Regions from separate parts of the Homo sapiens genome. Here all the other regions are linked to region 1. Evidence: promoter capture Hi-C in 16 types of primary human blood cells and fetal thymus (Javierre and others, 2016). All regions are on one chromosome and are shown on one strand. Each heading gives the region's core, a stretch centred on a gene start or on the middle of the fragment in contact. The rest is flanking DNA. Distances are from core to core; before and after follow the strand shown.

The links. Contacts are between HindIII fragments. The CHiCAGO score rates a contact against its expected background, and 5 or more counts as called.
Region 2: a fragment that was not itself captured here is called in contact with the fragment with the promoter of C2orf81 in region 1 in 4 of 17 cell types (naive CD4 T cells, erythroblasts, activated CD4 T cells and 1 more); the score reaches 6.8 in naive CD4 T cells.
Region 3: a contact is called between a fragment that was not itself captured here and the fragment with the promoter of C2orf81 in region 1, in 7 of 17 cell types (total B cells, naive B cells, naive CD4 T cells and 4 more). The highest score is 7.9, in total B cells.

What each region holds. Positions count from the first base shown.
Region 1 is chr2:74,419,833-74,423,244 of GRCh38, reverse strand. C2orf81 (chromosome 2 open reading frame 81) reads left to right here and starts at 1,626. Exons shown (of 3, transcript NM_001316764.3): 1 at 1,626-1,702. The coding sequence starts at 1,685. WDR54 (WD repeat domain 54) reads right to left here and starts at 1,515. Exons shown (of 10, transcript NM_032118.4): 1 at 1,429-1,515; 2 at 870-1,092; 3 at 313-375. The coding sequence starts at 1,091. RefSeq lists an enhancer at 836-1,015 and a silencer at 1,416-1,695. The HindIII fragment of the contact is 12,224 bases long and covers 1-2,629 here.
Region 2 is chr2:74,236,500-74,239,911 of GRCh38, reverse strand. SLC4A5 (solute carrier family 4 member 5) reads left to right here. Exons shown (of 31, transcript NM_133478.3): 21 at 377-577. Among named protein-coding and RNA genes, the nearest start is that of MTHFD2, 40 kb to the right of the region's middle. The HindIII fragment of the contact is 1,210 bases long and covers 1,172-2,381 here.
Region 3 is chr2:74,586,181-74,589,592 of GRCh38, reverse strand. The region is part of intron 4 of M1AP (meiosis 1 associated protein); the gene reads left to right. Among named protein-coding and RNA genes, the nearest start is that of DOK1, 33 kb to the right of the region's middle. The HindIII fragment of the contact is 950 bases long and covers 1,127-2,076 here.

The sequences.
Region 1 (3,412 bases), core at 377-2,876:
CCTTAGCCCATTTAATCCTCAAAACAAATCTGGGATGTAGGTACTATTTTTATCCTAATTTTTTCAGAGGACAACAGTGAGAGTGAGAAGTTAATAGTGTAAGGACATACAGCTAGTAAAGGGGCAGATACTGGAGGTGGCACTTGGAAACTGGAAAAGATGGAAAGATTGAAGATAAGAAATAGAAAAAGAGTGAGTGGGCCAAGCATGTGAAAAGTCTGGAAGTGTTTAGAGGCAAGTGGGAAAGTCTGGAAGCCTGGCAGGGAAGCTGAGAAGGCTCTGGTGGGGCAAGCAGGAGAGTCCTCTTCTTACCTGTATTCCTCGATGTGAGGTGAGTACCAGCAGCACTCGGAAGGGGAGGACACACCAGTGGACCTGGAGGGAGGTGCATCAGTGTAGGGAGAAAATCAAAGCAGGGAAGATGAGTTTGTTTGTTTTTTTTTTTTTTTTGGGGGACGGAGTCTTGCTCTGTGGCCCAGGCTGGAGTGCAGTGGCGCCATCTCGGCTCACTGCAACCTCAGCCTCCTGGGTTCAAGCGATTCTCCTGCCTCAGCCACCCAAGTAGCTGGGATTACAGGTGCACGCCACCACACCCGGTTAATTTTTTTTGTATTCTTAGTAGAGAAGAGGTTTCACCATGTTGGCCAGGCTGGTCTCGAACTCCTGGCCTCAAGTGCCCGTCTCAGCCTCCCAAAGTGTTGGGATTACAGGCGTGAGCCACCGCGCCCGGCAGGAGAGGGGAGATTCTGAGGTTAGGACATGCCTGGGGAGATTCTGAGGTTAGGACATGCCTGCTCCTGAAGGTTTGGAGAGAAAAGGCTGGGGGTAGGACTGGGTTCAGCAACATCACTCCCAGCTCCATGCCTCACCTGAGTGATAAGTGGGGGACTCACTCCAGCACCCTCCTTAGCGTGGAGCTGGCGCTGGGCCAAGGGCACACCCTCAGGAGCAGCGCTGAGAAGCTGGGCGCTTGGTCCATGAACCACGCCAAAATACGTGAGGTTGCGAGCCGGCAGCTGCAGCACACTGAGGTTGTTGCACAGGGCGGCGGCCGAGCCTCGCAGGGGAATGGAGCGCTCCCAGCGGAACATCCTGTGTGGGGGTGCAGCCGAATCACCAGGCGCGCTACAAACAGACGCAGCGGAGATGCCCGAGGGCGGCTATCATCGAGCATTTCGGAAGATGCCTGAGACTGGGTCATAGGATGGGGTGCCCAGAGGACGGTGATGGGGGAGGGTCTCGAGGAGCAAGACAGGGGAGTCCCAGGGCTGTTTTGGGGCGACGGGGGAATCGCAGAGGAGGAATGGGGATGACACAGGACCACCCGATGGCCCCAAGCCCGCGAGCCAAATAAGTGTGATGAAGCCCCCAAGGCTTTCTCCCTCGGCTCGGATCCCTGAAGCCCCCGGCCTAGATCAGAGGTAACACCTGCAGCCCCAGATCGGCTCGCCTGACTCCTGGTTCGTAGGGTCCCTCCAAATCCGCCGCCACCATAGAGACGACGCACGTACGCACGGCCCTTGGGCGGGGTGAGCGGCCGGAACGTGCCGCGGGCGGCGCGGTTGCCGGGGCAACTGTGGGCGGGGCGAGCGACCCCGAGCCCGTGGTTGCCCAGGCGACTGTTAGGTGGCTTACGCGGCCCGGATGCAGCAGAAACACCAGCGTTGCTGCGACCGCGTTGGCGATGGCGCACGAAGGCTCGGTGAGCTTCAGTTCAGCTGGGGATGCGCCAGAGCCAGGGTCGGCCGTTAAGGTCGGTGTCGGGAACAGTGGGCTGGCTCTGGGCCGCCCAGTGCCCCTACTTGCTCCCGCCCACCGCGCGGGAGTTTAGATGACCAAGGAAGCCACGTCGGTACTCGGGCAGAAAACCTACACCTGCACGGTGCCCACTCAAACGCTTTGTTACACTCAAGCCATGAGGGAAAGGGTCAGTGGGTGGTGTAGAGCCCGAGAACAGGAAGTGGATTTTGAAACAGCTAATGAATGTAGTAAGTCTCTTACATGGTGGTGCGTATTTAAATGGATGAGCATTTAGAGAGGGAAGATAACAGAAAAAATCTATTTCGAGAATTTCAAGAGGAAGAAATATATTAAATAATTCAGAGACTGCACTTGAAAGTCAAATTGTTTAAGAGCCAATCAATTTTAAAATAAAGAAAACGGGGCCGGTCTCAATGGCTCATGCCTGTAATCCCAGCACTTTGAGAGGCTGAGGCGGGAGGATTGCCTGAGCTCAGGAGTTCAAGACCAGCCAGGCCAACATGGCGAGACCCCGTCTCGACTAAAATACAAAAAATTAGCTGGATGTGGTGGCGCGGTGCCTGTAATCCCAGCTACTCGGGAGGCAGAGGCAGGAGAATTGCTTGAACTCGGGAGGCGGAGGTTGCAGTGAGCCGAGATCGCGCCACTGCGCTCTAGCCTGGGTGACAGAGAGAGACTGTCTCAAAAAAAAAAAAAAAAAAAAAAAAAAAAGAAGAAGAAGAAAGAAAACGGATTTGAAGAGCCTTTGTGCAAAAATATCTCTGTCCCTTCTGGTCACCATCACGGGTGTCAGATGCGAGGCTGGGAGGGGAGGTCTAAGGAAACAACTCTCTTTACTCAGTCCAGTCAGCCCTGCTCTAGTCAAGCTTGGCCTGGGCTATGGGCCACTCCTGGTGCTTGCTACAGGGCTGTTCTCACTGGTGGATAGGGTTAATGAGACTTCAGGGATTTTGAGTTCTGCAAGACTTAGGAAACAGCAGATTTGGGGGGATAATGAATTTTAGGAAACAGATATGAGACAAGGTTTTAGCGGGGCAATAGGCAAAGGTTTGGGAAGATCACATTTGGAAGTACATTTTGGAAGGAACCAGGTTCAGGGAGACTGTTGTGGGGAATTGAGGGAGCTCCCAAGAGATTGTTTGTAAACTTTTTATGTCTCTAAAGTGAGTTTTGGGGACTAGTCTTTTTTTTTTTTTAAGTGATTACAAAAGGAAACAAACTCATTGTAGAGAACTTACAAAATAGAAAAGAGCATAGGAAGGAAACGTATCCTCTGTTATCATTTTGAAGTTTTCCTTTTGTTGAACACATAGTGGTTTACATATATGAGATCATAATTGATGTGTAAGTTTGTATCCTGCTTCTTTCAATTAACGTTACATCATAAACATTTGCTTTATGCCATTGCAAATTCTTTCTAAAGATTACCTTTAATGGCTGGGTTGGTGGCTCATGCCTGCAAGGTGGGCAGATCACTTGAGGCCAGTTCAAGACCAGTCTGGCCAACATGGCGAAACCCCATCTCTACTAAAAATAGAAAAAAAATTAGCCAGGCCTGGTGGCAGGCGCCTGTAATCCCAGCTACTCCGGAGGCTGAGGCAGGAGAATTGCTTGAACCTGGGAGGCAGAGGTTGCAGTGAGCCGAGATCTT
Region 2 (3,412 bases), core at 527-3,026, 180 kb after region 1:
GTGATCCCCCATATATGAAAGGGTGTGACAGAGGGGATGGAGGGGAGAGAATAAAGATGAGACACTCCAGGAAGGAGGCGTCCACAGGACCTGTGGTTGGTTGATGGGAGCCAGGCATCCTGCCTCTGCACTTTTCCTACTTGCTAGCACAGCAGTGCATCCTAGAACACAATGAAGAAACACATGTGAGCTCCTAATCTTCCTAGGGAGCTTGTCATTCCTTGAACCAGCCCGTCCCCAGGAACATCACTCTGGGGGGCTGGGGTCCCTCAGAGGGTGGGAAGGTATGCTGGCTGCCTGGGGACTGCAGTGGGAAGGACACAGCTGACTCATCAGGAAGATGCTGACCCATTCTCTCCTGTGCTTGGTCTCCAAGTACAACCTCCTTAACCTCACAGCGTTGGACTGGTCCCTGCTGAGCAAGAAGGAGTGTCTGAGCTACGGCGGGCGCCTGCTTGGGAATTCCTGCAAGTTTATCCCAGACCTGGCGCTCATGTCCTTCATCCTTTTCTTTGGGACATACTCCATGACCCTGACCCTGAAGAAGTTCAAATTCAGCCGCTATTTTCCTACCAAGGTAAGCTCACCCTGCAGTTAGGAGGGGACCTGCAGTCAGACAGCTGCTGAGTCCCCCAGAGAGGGTTCTGGTCCACCGACAGGATGGACTCCATGCGAGCACTGGCCCACTGGGGTTTTTCAAGTTAAGTCAGAGAGAACTGTGTTCCCTTGTTGGCTGGTCCCCTTGACAACACTTGGTATTGTCAGGCTTTTATCTTTAGTCTTTGTCTATAGTAGTATCTCATTGTGTTTTTTAAATTTTTCATTTCCCTGATGACTAATGAAGTTGAAAATACAGCTATTCCTGTGTTTATTGGCCACATGCCCAATTGCCTTTCTTTTTGGAAGTGTCTGTTGAAATCTCTTGCACATTTTGGGTTGTCTGCCTTTCTGATTTGCAAGAGTTTGTTATATATTCTGGGTAGAAATGTTTTTGTGATTATATGTGTTGCAAAATCTTCTCCCACTCTGTGACTGTTTTTTTCTTTTTACATCCTTAATGGCATCTTTTGATTAACAGAAATTCTTAGTTTTATTGTAATTGAATATATCAAACTTTCCTCAAGGCAAATATTGGACAGCAGATATTCTTGTATGTTACCTTCTAAAAGCTTCATTGTTTTTCCTTTCATGTTAGATCTACAATCCATCAGAATTGATTCTGATGTGTACTGTGAGACAGTGTTTCTTTGTGATTTTATATAGTCAATTGTTCCAGTATTTTTTAAAGACTATTCTTTCTCCATTGCTTTGCAATACTTCCTTTGCCATATATCAAATATTCCTATATGACAGGGTCTGTTTCTGGGTTCTTTATTCTGTTTCACTAGTTTATTTATATATCAGTATCACAGTCTTCATTTCTGTAGCTTATAAGTCTTTATATCTTTGTCTCCCAAGCTCTCCCCTTTTGTCCTTTTTATATAATATTTTCTTGGCCCTTTGCATTTCCACATGAATTTTAGAATCATCTTAAATTTCACCAAAATGAAAACTTGTTGGAATTTTGATGGGATTATCTTTGCCTCTGTTTGGGAAGAATTAACGTCTTTCAAATTTTGAGTTTTTCTGATTTATGAATACAGTATACTTCATTTATTTTGGTCTTCTTTCTCTCCATAATGTTTTATACATTTTGATCTTTAAGTCTTGAACATTTTTTGTTAGAGTTATTCCTAGGTACTTGATTTTTTTATACCGTCGTAAATGCTAACTGCTATGTTATTATTATTTTATTATTATTATTATTTTTGAGACAGAGTCTCACTCTGTCACCCAGGTGGGAGTGAAATGGCATGATCTCGGCTCACTGCAACCTCCGCCTCCCGGGTTCAAGTGATTCTCCTGCCTCAGCCTCCCAAATAGCTGGGACTACAGGCGCCTGCCACCACACCCGGCTAATTTTTGTAATTTTAGTTGAGACGGGGTTTCACCATGCTGGCCAGGCTGGTCTTGAACTCCTTACCTCAGGTGATCCCCCCACCTCAGCCTCCCAAAGTGCTGGGATTACAGGTGTGAGCCACCGCACCCAGCCCTAACTGCTGTTTTAAATTTTATTTTCTACCTGTTTGTGGCTGGAATAAAAGATTTATGAAAACAGCACTTGCATACATAAGCAGTAACTGTGCCGTGGGGTGGGGGGTACTCGGAAGAATTTAAGCAACTCTTTCCCACCGTAAACTCCATTAGCAGTCTCCTAAAGCCATCTTAACTAAGTATTACAGCTGCTACTGCTACTAATCATAATGATAAAATCTTTGAAATAAATAGTTGAATTTTTCCCAGATTTTCTAAAGACTAAATAAAAGGTGCTTTAGGAAGCTTCACAGTATATAAACTGAGTAAAAAAATAGTTTGCTTACAACACAAATGCACCATCAAGACAAGTTCTCTTCCTTCCTGCCCACTTCCAGTCCAGAGCACATCCCTCAATCTCCTCTTATGTAAAAATTCTCAAGCAGTCACTGTATCTGAGAGTATCTATCTGTTGCCTACAGGATGAAAAGTAATTCATGTGGCATGAAATTCTTGTGCCAACAACATTTTTTCCGTCACATTACTTAAAAATTGCTCAGTTGGGCCAGGCACAGTGGCTCACGCCTGTAATCCCAGCACTTTGGGAGGCCCAGGCAGGCGGATCACGAAGGCAGGAGATCGAGACCATCCTGGCTAACATGGTGAATCCCCGTCTCTACTAAAAATACAAAAAATTGGCCGGGCGTTGTGGTGGGCGCCTGTAGTCCCAGCTACTTGGGAGGCTGAGGCAGGAGAATGGCATGAACCCGGGAGGCAGAGCTTGCCGTGAGCAAAGATTGCGCCACTGCACTCCAGCCTGGGCGACAGAGAGAGACTCTGTCTCAAAAAAAAAAAAAAAAATTGCTCAGTTGCCTTCTGGAATTTCCGGTTGCAGAGAGGAATGAGGCCACACCATTTTATACTCATCAGATTGGTAGACAGATGAAGGTCTTGGGACACCAGATGTTGGAGATGGAAAGCAGTAGGTGGGAATGTAGACAGATACATCCAATTTGGAGAGCAACTGACACTCTCTGATTAGGTTGGACCATATGAAGTTGCCCATATTTGACTGTTTCAACCTACAAAAAAAGTCAAGTTCATGTGGTTTAACTTAATAAGCATTCATATGGTTTTGATGTATATGCTAGGAATATTATAGAAAAGGAAGTATAAACCCAGCACACTACTTGGTTCTGCTGTGACTAATATTTATATGATCATGATAATATAAAGCTGTTACTAATTTTCAACTTTTGGAATTGACTTACAGATAAAACACACAAGCCATGTGTTTACGGAACAAGAAATGATTGTTCTCAGCTTCGACAATGGAAAG
Region 3 (3,412 bases), core at 352-2,851, 170 kb before region 1:
AGCTGGGCTGGGACATGTGGCACCTTACACAAGCTGATAGCTTGGGCACACCTTCAAACAAATATTTTTAAAATGCTAATTCAGTAGTTGTTTAGAAGCTAAGAGCTACAAAGAAAAAGAGAAAGAAAAAGGAACTTGCTTTACTCTGCCCCACTCTTGCACAGTTCCTGAGCAATACCAAATTGCAATAATGGAACCCACCCTTCTTCAAAGCAAGTGTAGTGACCCCTGTTGATACATGAGTGTGCCACTTTGGGGGTCTTGTCCTTCACCCCAGCAGCTTATTAGCTAGTCCTCACTTCCTTCCTTATTCTGCTTTAGTCTTCTGGCTAATCCCCCAACACAAAAAGCTCATTCCCATCTCAAGACCTTTGAACTTGCTCATCTCTCTATAAGAAACAATCTTCGCACAAATGTTTTTATGACTCACTTCACGTCATTCAAGTTTCTGCCCAACTGTCAGCTTCTTAAAGAATACTTCCCTGGCCAGCCAAGCTAAAACTTCACATGCATGCACGCGCGCGCGTGCACACACACACGCCCCTTTATTTTTCTTCATAGTATCTATCATCTGAAATTGTATTCTGTTTTATTTGCTTGCTTATTATCTGTTCTCTCACTAGAATGTAAGCCACGAAAGTAGGCAATTTGTCTCTTTTCTTGATGACACCAATAAGTGCCTAGCTCATAAAAGACAGTAAACTAATAAGTGCTTGAATGACTAAATAAATGAATGACTAAGCAAATGAATGAATGACAACAGTTCTCTCTCTCTGAGAAGAGTTCTGGGATATAAATTTTCTCTATCTCATTACAGTTATGGTGATGTTTTGACCCTCTTACAGACTGGGGCTCCAGGAAGATAGTCACCACTAGGTCCATTCCTGCAGTCACCTCTCTGCCCTGAGTTCACATGTTGATAACCACTACCACCACCCCTGCCAACTCTTTTCAAGGGGCTTCTCCTTTTTCCTAGGGTCCAAGCATCACTTCCACAAATGAGGCAAATGAGCTTAGAAAGACAAGCTTGACTGCCTCACCGTTGTAAGCTGTTAGATTATTCTCATGTTGTGTTGATTTAAAGACAATGGTTGGATGATGCTGCACTGCTGTTCCTGACTAAGCTTTATCTGCTGTGATTACTTACCCTGGTTGTTAACATCCTATAGCTATCCTGTATTCAGAGAGTAGACAGCTAATTGTAAACCAACCCAGGCAGGCTAAGATACTGTGACTCTATAGTCTCTGTAGTGGTTCTTGACCTTTTTGGGGTCATAGAGCTCTTTTGAGAATCTGATAAAAGCTAGGGGCTTTCCCCCTTCCCCCACCCCACCAAAATACATCTATGCATGTACAGATGAATTGTATATAATTTCAAGGGGTTCTCAGAATGTCTGAAGCCCATCCATGACACCCAAGTACAGGCCTCATGAATGTCATTCGGAAAGGAACAGGTCAGGCCTAGAGGTTAGGGCCCTGTGAGACGGGGGAAGATGTGGAGGACTGGGCAAGAGCACCTTTTCCTGGGCCTCTACTTTCCTGGGCCTCTATATTTTATGTGAAGAGAGAAATACAGACATTGTATATGCACGTATGTATGTTAAAGTCTCCTATTTTAAACACACTTTAATTTTATAACCCTATTTTAAGGTTTCTTCTGAGAGGGTCTACTTCAGGTATTACCTAATCTTCAGTCATTTGGCTTTCTTAGTTTTTTCCCATTGTGGCCGCAGGAGGGCAGGGTAAGTTCAAAAACAATGTGAATGCTGGCTGCAGCTTGGGCTGCAGTGAACCAGGCCTTCCTCACTGCTTTAACTATCCAAACACTAAGGGCCACCGTTTCACTCCTGTAACCTTTCCATTTCATGCCATTGGTGTGACCCGTTCATCTAGTGCATGGGTACCCTGCTCCCCAGCCAGTGAGGGAGCTGTTTTTCAACGTCTGAGAAGTCTCCTCCCCGATCCCCAGATTTAGCACATTTAGTCGTATTTGTGAAGAACACAATACATACTAGTTGTTGGTGTTCAATGTATGGTAGTCGGGGGTAGAAAGCAGTGACCAAGGGAAAAAAAGCTTTAAAAAAGGAAAACATATGGCCAGGCGTGGTAGCTCACACCTGTAATCCCAGCACTCTGGGAGGCCAAGGCAGGTGGATCACGAGGTCAGGAGATCGAGACCATCCTGGCTAACACGGTGAAGCCCCATCTCTACTAAAAATACAAAAAATTAGCAAAGCATGGCAGCAGGCGCCTGTAGTCCCAGCTACTCGGGAGGCTGAGGCAGGAGAATGGCGTGAACCCGGGAGGTGGAGCTTGCAGTGAGCCGAGATCGCGCCACTGCACTCCAGCCTGGGGGACAGAGCGAGACTCCGTCTCAAAAGAAAAAAGAAAAAAAAAAAAGGAAAATATATTATTATCCTAAAAGAGTTCATTTTGTGGATGAGAGAAAAGGAAGAAAATTATATTTGTTGGACCTACTGGATGCCATTTATAGATAATCATCTCGCTTTGTAGTGCTTTACTAAGAAATATGTTGTACTATTCCACTTCGCCCAAAATCACATAGCTAACAAATTTTTTTTTTTTTTTTGAAATGGAGTTTCGCTCTTGTTGCCCAGGCTAGTGTGCAATGGCGCGATCTCAGTTCACTGCAACCTCCACCTCCCAGGTTCAAGCGATTCTCCTGCCTCAGCCTCCCAAGTAGCTGGGATTACAGGCATGCACCACCACACCTGGCTAATTTTTTGTATTTTTAGTGGAGACCGGGTTTCTCCATGTTGGTCAGGCTGGTCTCAAACTCCCGACTTTAGGTGATCTGCCCGCCTCAGCCTCCCAAAGTGCTGGGATTACAGGCGTGAGCCACCGTGCCCGGCTGCTAACAACTTTTAATTCTCAAGTCAAACCCTGGTCTTTCCATTAAGCCTTTCATAAACTCAGGAAAAGAGAAGAAAATCCTTTAAAAAAAAATAAATCAGCAGTGCGATTAATATTGCCCAAATGAAGCCCACAGATACCCAGGGATGGCAATTAAAGCTAGATAAGGGAGGATATAGTTAAGCATAACTTCTTGGACAAAGTCAGTCCTGAGTTGAATTCTGGAAGAGGTGCAGGCCATGGGCTAACATTAATGAAAGCACTAAGGAAGGAAGGAAGTCATGTGGCAAGGAGACTAACTTAGATGAAGCTCAAGAGTTACAGGAAAAAGTAATGAGAGCTGAGGAGGAGGGAGTCACTGTTCAACTCAGGCATTTGCTAAGCTTCAGCTCTATACAAGGCCCTGATAGGGAGGATAAAAGTGAAAAGAAACAATTCCCACCTTTTAATTTACATTTAAATGGGAGAGATCAAACGTATTCCCAAATAACAATAGTACTAAGGTAAAATGTAATGTGAACTATATTACAAATGTAAA